2 separate regions of the Homo sapiens genome follow, and region 2 is linked to region 1. Evidence: promoter capture Hi-C in 16 types of primary human blood cells and fetal thymus (Javierre and others, 2016). All regions are on one chromosome and are shown on one strand. The core of a region is centred on a gene start or on the middle of the fragment in contact, and the rest is flanking DNA. Distances in the headings are between cores, read along the strand shown. Region 1 holds the start of LRRC74B (leucine rich repeat containing 74B). Region 2 holds the start of SERPIND1 (serpin family D member 1).

The links. The method cuts DNA at HindIII sites, captures the fragments that hold promoters and counts their contacts. A CHiCAGO score of 5 or more calls a contact.
Region 2: a contact is called between the fragment with the promoter of SERPIND1 here and the fragment with the promoter of LRRC74B in region 1, in 17 of 17 cell types (naive CD8 T cells, naive CD4 T cells, M0 macrophages and 14 more). The highest score is 14.9, in naive CD8 T cells.

The regions. Positions count from the first base shown.
Region 1 is chr22:21,043,753-21,048,919 of GRCh38, forward strand. LRRC74B (leucine rich repeat containing 74B) reads left to right here and starts at 2,194. Exons shown (of 10, transcript NM_001291006.2): 1 at 2,194-2,373; 2 at 3,604-3,746; 3 at 4,132-4,264. The coding sequence starts at 2,235. It also overlaps the pseudogene P2RX6P. The HindIII fragment of the contact is 8,622 bases long and covers 1,640-5,167 here.
Region 2 is chr22:20,770,843-20,775,566 of GRCh38, forward strand. SERPIND1 (serpin family D member 1) reads left to right here and starts at 3,271. Exons shown (of 5, transcript NM_000185.4): 1 at 3,271-3,303. The region is part of intron 19 of PI4KA (phosphatidylinositol 4-kinase alpha); the gene reads right to left. The HindIII fragment of the contact is 9,953 bases long and covers 1-3,400 here.

The sequences.
Region 1 (5,167 bases), core at 944-3,443:
TGAGAAGGGTGGAGGAGGAGCACCTGACCGAGGTGCCCCAGGTCAGGGAGCAGGGCTACAGGAAGTTCCACGCCCTGGCCCCACCACACCCCTCCCACACCACTCTCAAGCTCAAGCCATTAGTCTCAAACACTCCCTTCTTTTCTGTTGGCAGCCTTCGGAAATGCAGTTTCTCTGGCCTGGTTTCTCAACCCATCCCTTTTTCTACCAGAAACCTCCTACACATCCCTGAAAGTCCTGTTCAGGTGCCACTCCTCTGTGAAGCCCTTCCTGAGAACCTGCAGCCACCTTTGGCATCACATGCTTCTCTCTCGCACACACTGGCTGCATGGCGGGTGTTCAAGCTGTCAGTGGGGAAAGGACTTGCGCCCCCGTCAGCAACATCAGGGCCCCCACCTGAGGTGGCTTCACGAAGTCGGCCACATCCCACAGCCGGTTTCCAAGCTCCTTGATCTGAGTCACGGAAACCCCTTTGAGTTTGGTTGTGATGGAAATCTGGGGTTCCAGGTCCCGCTCCTGGTAGCCTTTTTTGGCGAGGAGCGCCCACCTGGGAAGGAGAAGATGGGCAGTGTGGTGTCCCCCCAGCGTGTAGTGACGGGGCAGAGCTGGGCCCTACATGCTCAGTTCTCTCCCCACACCCTACAGGCTCCCAGTCCAGCATCCTCTCTGGCCCCACTTCCCACTGTAGACTCCCTGAACGAGACAGAAGCTCCAGCCATGCATCAGAGAGCCAGTGCCCTCAGACAATCACCTTCACTAGCCAGCACCCACCCCCAGCCTCAGTAGACCCAGCTCCGAGCTTATAGACTCCCCTGACCGGAGATATAGCTGGTGGTCTCTCTGGGGGCCTAGTGCTCCAGCTCTCACAGATGTTAAGGACAATGTCTTGTGCCCCCTGGGTGGGGCCGTGGGGAGGGACTGGGAAGCAGGCAGGTGGACACACAGGACAAACACACAGCTTGTTCTTGCTCTCCTGTCTTGTATTGCCTACCTCCCACCCCGTCCCATTATGGCCCCTTCCCCTCCAGCCCCTAAACAGCCCAACCCTCAACTTCAACCCAGCAGGACCAAGCCCCACCCCCGACCTCTTCCCTTGCCCCTCCAGCCTGGCCAAAAGCTCTTCTCTCTTACCCTACCACATAGACGACGATCCCAAACTGCAGCAGCCTCTGCAGGGCGCCCCCCCACCAGTTCCTGGTCATCACATACTTCTCCGTTTTATAATCCAGAAGCCCCTAGTCTGCTGTGGCCCCTGGGGAGCCCATGCTGCCAGCTCCTGCTAGCTGCGGGCACATGAGTCAGCATGGCAGCTGCAGCCGCAGCTGAACAGGAGGCAAAGCAGGGCCCGAGCCAGGCCACGCCAGCCGCTGTTAAAGGGACACTTCCACTAAAGCAGGATCCAGCCTCCAACACCCAGCCTTCAGCCCCTAACCCCAGCTGCCCTGCACCTCCCACCCTCCCTACATTCTCTTTGCTGGGCCCTGGTGGCACACAGAAAACAGCAGCTCTGTCCCTGCCCTCTGGCCTCACTTCCTCCGGTGGGAGTGGACGTGGTGAGAGGATGGGGAAGGACAGCTGTTATCAGTGCTGTGAGAAGACGGCCTGAGGGCAGCAACAGCCCCGGGGGGGCTCTGAGTAAAGCTTCAGGAATAAGTGACTTCTGAGCTGACGCTTGCAGATTCTGAAGTTCAACAAGCAGACAAAGATGGGGATGGAGGTTCCCAGGGGAGCGAACAGCGTATGCAAAGGCCAGCGCATGCAAGAGAACTGAGAGCCACAGAGTGAGAGGGTGACCTGGCTCTGCGAAGTTCCCCAGGCCCTCCTGAAAAGCCATTCCCAAGTGCAGTGAAGAAAACACAAGCTCTGGAGTCAGGCATGTTTCCCATTCCATGAAAGGGGGGCGATGCTGGAACCGCCTAGGGGAGGCAGGGGGATAAACGCAGCAAGGCGCCCAATCCGGTGCATGGTCTGTGGCGCATGCAGTGTATCAGCCCGGGCGAGGAGCCTCAGCACAAGCCGGCCACAGTTTCTACGGCAACCGACAACACCGGGTTGCCGGGGCGACCGCCGCGGGAGAGCGCGTCGCTATTGGCTGTGGGGGGTGCCTGTTGCTGGACGGCACATTCGGTTGGTCAGCGCAGCCGCAGACTCCGCCCACAATCCCGGGCCGCGCTCTGGGCGCGGGGTCAAGCTGTCTCCGACTCAGTGTCTGAGACTGCGAGAGGGTCGTAACCATGAGGGGTTCCTGTGAGAGGTCTGGGGAGGATGAAGAGCAGAAAGAAGAGGCTATGGTGGCCTGTGGGCGTCTTTCAGGGGTCCCCGAGGCCGAGCAGGGTCCCGAGGCCAATTGGGACTCCGACCTGGAGACGGAAGGTGCTCGGGGGAGGGGGCAGGCCCGACTCCTCCCCTTTGGGGGTCTTCTCCCGCAGGGGTTGGGGGAGGCGGGCTGGGGCTAAGGCCAGCAGGGAACGTACCCGCCTGCGGGGCGCCTCCAGCCCCCTGCCTTCCCTTCATTGCTCCTGGAAGCATCAGGATAAAATGCAAAATCCCGCCAGACAGTGCACCAAGGGCTGTCCCACCCTGAAATGAAATCAGAGCCGGGTTTTCCCAATCCACAGGAAAAACTAAGCTAATGGATGTATGGAATTTAGAACTATCTCGGTTTTTTCTCCCGTAAAATGTTTACAAAACATTTGTGGCCTGCAATCCAGGTTAAAAGACACAGCATGCAATTTGGCATCAGACAGGCAGAGGCCTGACTCTGGCAGGATTAGCTACCACCACTAGCTGTGGGATGCTCAGCGCAGGCCAGCCATGACTTCTACTACAAACAACATTGGGTTGCTTGGGCTCATATTTATTAATAAATAAATATATAAATAAATTATTTATTTATTAGAGCCAGGGTCTTGCTCTGTCACCCGGGCGTCAGTGCAGTGGCAGGATAATAGCTCACTGCAGCCTTGAACTCTGCACTCTAGTGAGCCTTCTGCCTCAGCCTCCTGAGTAGCTGGGACTACAGGAGACCACCACGTCTGGCTAATATAAAAATTTTTTGGCTGGGTGGGGTGGCTCACGCCTGTAATCACAGCACTTTGGGAGGCCCAGGCAGGCAGATCACCTGAGGTCAGGAGTTCGAGACCAGCCTGGCCAACATGGTGAAACCCCGTCTCTACTGAAAATACAAAAAACTAGCCCAGTGTGGTGGTGGGCGCCTGTAATCCCAGCTACTCGGGAGGCTGAGGCAGGAGAATTGCTTGAACCTGGGAGGCAGAGGTTTCAGTGAGCCGAGATCGTGCCACTGCATTCCAGCCTGGGTGACAGAGCAAGAGTCTGTCTCGAAAAAAAAAAAAAGAAAATTTGTCTAGCTATGTTGCCCAGGTTGTCCAGCTTTCTTTTGATAGCCGTATGACTTTAAGGAAAAGATTTGCGTTGCCTGAGGCTTGATGTCCTCATCTGTCATATGGGAGCAGTGGTCCCAAGAAGCACAGGAAGCAGTGCTTCTAGAGGCAAAACATAGGCCAGGTAGTGACACAGGGCAGGGGAGGACACAGGTGGCTGTAGCTGTGCAGGGTCCACATTCGTCCCCCTGTCTCCTGCCAGGCACCGATGGGCTTGGAGAACTGGTCAGGGACACACTGTACCTGAGGTCTTGCCGGGCCCATAGTGTTGTGCCCATCTCCTGCTTTCTGCGCCAAGGGAGCGCCCAAGAGCTGAACCTCCGGCACCGTGGCCTGGGGCCCCAGGTACCACTGGAGGGACACTGTATCCAGGCTTACGGGGAGAGGCCTCGGGAGACAGCAGCCATGGGAGTGCCCCTGTGTCTGTCCCCTACACTCCCCAGCTTCTGCCTGTGTCAGTCATGCCCTACCCTCCACATCTGGGAGACAGATGGGATTGAGGCTGTGACAGGTGGCGTTAAGGGTTGTGGATCCTGCAGGCTCCTAACCCGCTGGGGGGTCAGGGAGAGCTGGGGGTGGGGGGAGACCTTCACAGAGCCTAAAAGGAGAAGCAGGTGTCACTTAAAACAGGTGGGAAGGGGAGGGCTTTCCAGCTGGAGGATGTGGAGTGGGCTGAGCCCTGGAGCATGAGCCAGGATAGTGGCCAGTGTGTTTGCTCTGTCTGTCCCAGGGCGCCCGGGCTCTGGCTTCCTCATTGAGCTCCAATCCATATGTCAAGCGGCTGGACCTTCGAGACAATGGGCTCTGTGGGGCAGGTGCAGAGGCCCTGGCAGGTGCCCTGAGCAAAAGCAGCAGCATCCATGGTAGGTGCTGGGTCTGGGGCAGGTGGGCAGGCGTGTCCTCCTTTTCCTCAGGGATGTGCCTCCATCGTTGAAAGCTGGGCCGTGTCACCTGGGGCCTGCTGGTGTTGCTGGTGGATAGAAGAGGGGCCTCATCACAGGAGGGGGCATGTGGGGTGGAGTTAGACCCTCTGCTGTGCAGCCGATGCCTGATAGAAGTCCTTTCCTCACCCACCCCACACCATCACTCCCCTCCCTTGCTGGCCAGCATCCCCCTCTTCACCTAGCACATGGGAGACTCCCAGTACCTGAATGCAGGATGGGAGAGTCCTTCCACACAGAGAGGTGGGAGTTGGGCATTGTAAGAAGCAGGTAGGCAATGTGGGAGTTTGATGGGGCTGGATCCAAATGCCAGTTCTGCCACTGAAGAGCTGGATACCTGGGCAAGCAGCTTAACCTCTCTGAGCTTCAGTTTCTGATCTGTGAAATGGCCCCCAAAATACCTTATGGGCTTGGGGCTGTGGTGAGCATGAAGTGAAATGCACTCCTGAAGTGGTCAGAAGAGTGTGTGACCCATGTACGTGCTCCATGCATGGCCACTTGGGCTATTATTGCCAATCCTGGCAACGGGGCTGTGAGGGCTTCTGAAGTGGGTGGTGATATCACTGCCAGATGCAGCCATCGACGGTATAGCTGCCCCCCACCACAGCAGTCTCTACAGTACCAGGAGGTAGGCGGTTTTAACCACTTGACACAGAAGCTGGTGGGCACACAGGGAGGGGGAGGTCAGGGGCAGAGGGGACCCAGCCATTGGGAGCCAGAGCCACCATGCAACCCCAGGACAGTTAACCTGTAAGTCCCCTTCCTCAGCCTCAGACCTGGAGGTTTGGGGGATGGCAGAAGTAGGGGAGTGCCTGGCTTTGCATC
Region 2 (4,724 bases), core at 2,021-4,520, 270 kb before region 1:
CACCGTGCCTGACCCCTCTGTATATTTTTAGAATTTCATGTTAAAAGATGGAAAAGTCTGGATGAGGTAGTTCACGCCTGTCTTCCCAGCTCTTTGGGAGGCCAAGGTGGGAAGACTGCTTGAAGCCAGACGTTCAAGACCAACTTGGCCAACATAGTGAGACCCCGCTTTTTTCTAACTAAAAAAATTTTTTTCCAAGTTGGAAAAAATATCTAGCCATAAGACAAACCTTGAAACTGCAAAAGAACAATGGAGTATGTGTGACAGGAGGTACTGCTCTACAGTGGGGTTAAAGCCATACACAAGCTGTGGTGGCTCACGCCTGTAATCCCAGCACTTTGGGAGGCCGATGCGGGCGGATCATGAGGTTAGGAGTTCAAGACCAGCCTGGCCAGCATGGTGAAACCCGTCTCTACTAAAAATACAAAACATTAGCCAGACGTGGTGGTGGGCACCTGTAGTCCCAGCTACTAGGGAGGCTGAGGCAGGAGAATGGCGTGAACCCAGGAGGCGGAGCTTGCAGTGAGCTGAGATTGCGCCACTGCACTCCAGCCTGGGCGACAGAGCGAGACTCTGTCTCAAAAAAAAAAAAGCCATACACAAGCTGTTACCACTAAATGGGAAAATGACTGAAAAATGTCAATGTCAAGAGGGACTGAAATCAAATTTTTCCAATAGTGGGTTACATGATCAGAAATCCAAATAGACAGGAAATATGTTGGCTTTATTTATTTATTTATTTATTTATTTATTTATTTAGACAGAGTCTCACTCTGTCACCCAGGCTGGAGTACAGTGGCATGAACTCGGCTCACTGCAACCTTCACCTCCCAGGTTCAAGCGATTGTCCTGCCTCAGCCTCCCGAGTAGCTGGGACTACAGATGTGTGCCACCACACCCAGCTAATTTTTGTATTTTTAGTAGGGACGGGGTTTTACCATGTTGGTCAGGCTGGTCTTGAACTCCTGACCTCAAGTGATCCACCCGCCTTGGCCTCTCAAAGTGCTGGGATTACAGGTGTGAGCCACCACACCTGGCCGGTACTGGCTTTAAAAATAACAAAAGTAATACATACACATAGAAAAAGGTCAAACAAAGAAGTACATAGAATGAAAAATGAATGCTGTGTCCCCTCCCAGACCATTTCTGTGAATAAATATGTAATACCATGAAATGATGAGGACTAACATTTTCTGAATGCCAGGCACCACTCTATGTGCTTTCCACACATTCATTAACCTCATTTAATTTTCTCATTTAATTAATGAGATAAATTAATGTATCTCATTTAATTTTCACAACAACCTCATGCAGTAGGTGTAACTGTCACCCTCATTTCAGAGAGCAGAATACTGAGAGCTGGAGGCCAAGGGGCAATTTCAGCCAGGGTGGCTGGTGACGCCTCGGTGAAACCAAGAGCGAACAGTGAGAGCAGCGGCCACCTGCTGGTCTGCAGGGATGGTGTCCTGGGCAGAAAGAATAGCAAGTGCCAGGGCTGTGCTGGGGCCGGGCTTTGCATGTGTGAGAACAAGACAGAGAATGAGGGAGGTGGGCCCACGAGGAGTGTGGGCACAGACAGCAGCCTCTGCCTGTGGTGCCACGCTGAAGACTCAGTATTGTATGTGACAGATGAAGGCTCTAAGAAGACAGCTCTGACAAAAGCTAGAGTGCAAAATCAGACTCAGACACAACCACCGGTCTGTGTCCTGAACACAATGGACCTTTACACTCTGGAATTTCTCAAACGGAGCAATGCACAGACACCCCCATGGGCCCCTTGCACACCCGCAGATTCTCCTAGGAGTCACATTCTCTCTTCAGATAGACTCTGGGTGCCGACACTCCCAAACATGCTCTTGAGGAGCAGTCTCTGTGATAAGCTGATCTTCCAGACAATCCAGAATATTCTTAAAACTTTTTAGATCATAAAATTTAAAACACAAATTAAAAAACAAATTATCATAAGGCCGGGCACAGTGACTCATGCCTGTAATCCCAGCACTTTGCAAGGCTGAAGCAGGAGGATCACTTGAGCCCAAGAGTTCAAGACCAGCCTAGGCAACATAGTGAGACCCTGTCTCTACAAAAAAGTCAAAAGTTAGCTAGACATGGTGGTGTGCACCTGTATTCCCAGCTACTTGCAGGGCTGAGGTGAGGAGGATTGCTTCAGCTCGGGAGGTTGAGGCTGCAGTGAGCCAAGATCACGCCACTGCACTCCAGCCTGGGTAACAGAGTGAGACCCTGTCTCAAAAAACACATAGGGCCAGGCGTGGTGGCTCACGCATGTAATCCCAGCACTTTGGGAGGCCGAGACGGGAGGATCACTTCACTCCAGGAGTTCAACACCAGCCTGGCCAACATAGTGAAACCCCGTCTCTACTAAAAATACAAAAAATTAGTTGGACATGGTGGTGTGCGCCTGTAATCTCAGCCACTCAGGAGGCTGAGGCAGGAGAACGCTTGAACTTGGGAGACAGAGGTTGCAGTGAGCTGAGATCGCACCACTGCACTCCAGCATGGGCAGCAGCGCGAAACTCTGTCTCAAAACAAACAAACAAACAAACAAACACCCATAAACACAAAATGTATCACAGCCTCAGAGATCCCCACGAATGCCTAAGTGGCCCTGAATTTGGGAGGCACTGCTCAGTAATAGTCCTATCTGTCCCACAACAGACAGGAGTGCTGGGCTGCACCTACTGGCAACAAACACAGCAACCCTTGACTGAAGAAAGGTCCATGCCACAATCCCCTTATTCTGTAAGCCACTAATTTTGTCCTCTCTCCTCCACCTTTCACTGAGGAACGAGCTCTTGGAAGGACAGGGACACCCGCCTAGTAGCTGAGCCAGCCACATCAGTCCTGGAGAGCAGGTGGAGGGCAGATGCTGTGATCATCCCAGAAGAGAGGACACAGTTGGAGGCAGATGCATGGTCTCTACTTTCAGCTACCCTCAATGCAGCCTGGTCCCCAGAGGCCTGAAGAGCGCCTTGTTTATGTGGTGACCTCAAGAGGGGCTGCTCCTGCACCAAGGCTATGTGTGCATGCTAACACAGTAACCGTCATATACTCAAAGTGTCAGCTCTAAGAACTGGAGATGAGGAGCTGCAAGCCACTCTACAGTTATCAAAGGCACAGCTGAGGGGGTTTGTGCTGACCAAGCTGGTTGCCTGGTGTTTGGATTGGGACTTATTTACTTTGGAAAATATGCAGCAACAGCCCAGCACCAAAGTTCACATCAAAATCCCACTGATGACCTTGGCTGCTTTCATCTCTGAAGCGCCACTTCTCAGAAACACAGAGGTAAGTTGGGTTTCTAATGTTTCTGCTGATTATAAATTATTTTTGGTGTTTACGGATAGGCAACTGGTTCATTTTTCTAGCAAACTAAGAATTCAGAAGCTTTCTACACTGTTTTAGAAGTGGGAAATGGTTTCATTTTTCAGTGTGCCTATTATAAAATTGTGTCAGTTCCATTGTTGGGAGAGTTGACAAACTTAGAATAGGAGCTGTGGAATAGATGAAAATATTGTACTTATATTAAATTAATCGAATTGGATAACTGTCCTGTGATTATGTATGAGAATATCCTTGCTCTTGGGTATTTTCCCTGAAGTATTAGTATTAAAGGTTAGAGGGGCCGGGTGCAGTGGCTCACGCCTGTAATCCCAACACTTTGGGAGGCCGAGGCGGGTGGATCACGAGGTCAGGAGTTCAAGACCAGCCTGACCAACATGGTGAAGCCAAGTCTCTACTAAAAATACAAAAATTAGCTGGGCGTGGTGGCACGCGCCTGTAATCCCAGCTACTCAGGAGGCTGAGGCAGGAGAATCGCTTAAACCCGGGAGGCAGAGGTTGCAGTGAGCGGAGATCGTGCCACTGCACTCCAGCCTGGACAACAGAGTTAGACTCCGTCAAAAAAAAAAAAAAAAAGAAGAAAAAAGAAAAAATGTTAGAGGAACAAGATATAGGAGACCTACTCTCAAATGGTCTAGAAGAAAAAATGTGTATGTGCATGCCTGTGAGAACACACACGTACGTACACACACACACAGATAATGACAGGGCAAAGGTTCCAAAATTTTAAACCTGGTAAATCTCGGTACGGGTATACAGGAGTTGTTCTACTACACTATTCTTTCAACATTTTTGGAAGTTTGAACTTACTTCAAAATAAAAAGTTTTCCAAACTTTAGGCAGTTACTTCTCTCCCATTCTGCCTGCTCTGTTGGGCCTGGAGACCATACACCAGGAGGGATGACGGTTTATCAAGTGTTATGCTCTGATGCGTGACTGAAAAGGCCAACCCAGCTCTGGCAATTAGCAAGAAAGCACAATATGAAGTTCCCAGGAAAAAAAAAAAGCAAAACAAACTTTTGAATGATTTATCTTTAAAATATATTGTTTCTCTTCAAACAGTAATCTGGATTTAATCACAACCTAGTGATAGTTTTTAAACGTCTTCTACAATGTTTGTTATACTAAATAGCAAAACATCAGGAAGATTTACCTTCAGATCTTTAATTTCAATCCATAAAAGATATCAGAGATATTTTCTCCTTCCTCTGGTAAGGGAATGACGAAAACTATTTTTGGCTTTTTATCAGATAATGTGGGAACAGGGTATAAGAAGTTTCCAAATATAACTTCTGAATACCGGGATAAAACATGCATGTCTTTACTCTGCCACTCTATCTGGCCTCAGATACGTTTTCCTGAATGCT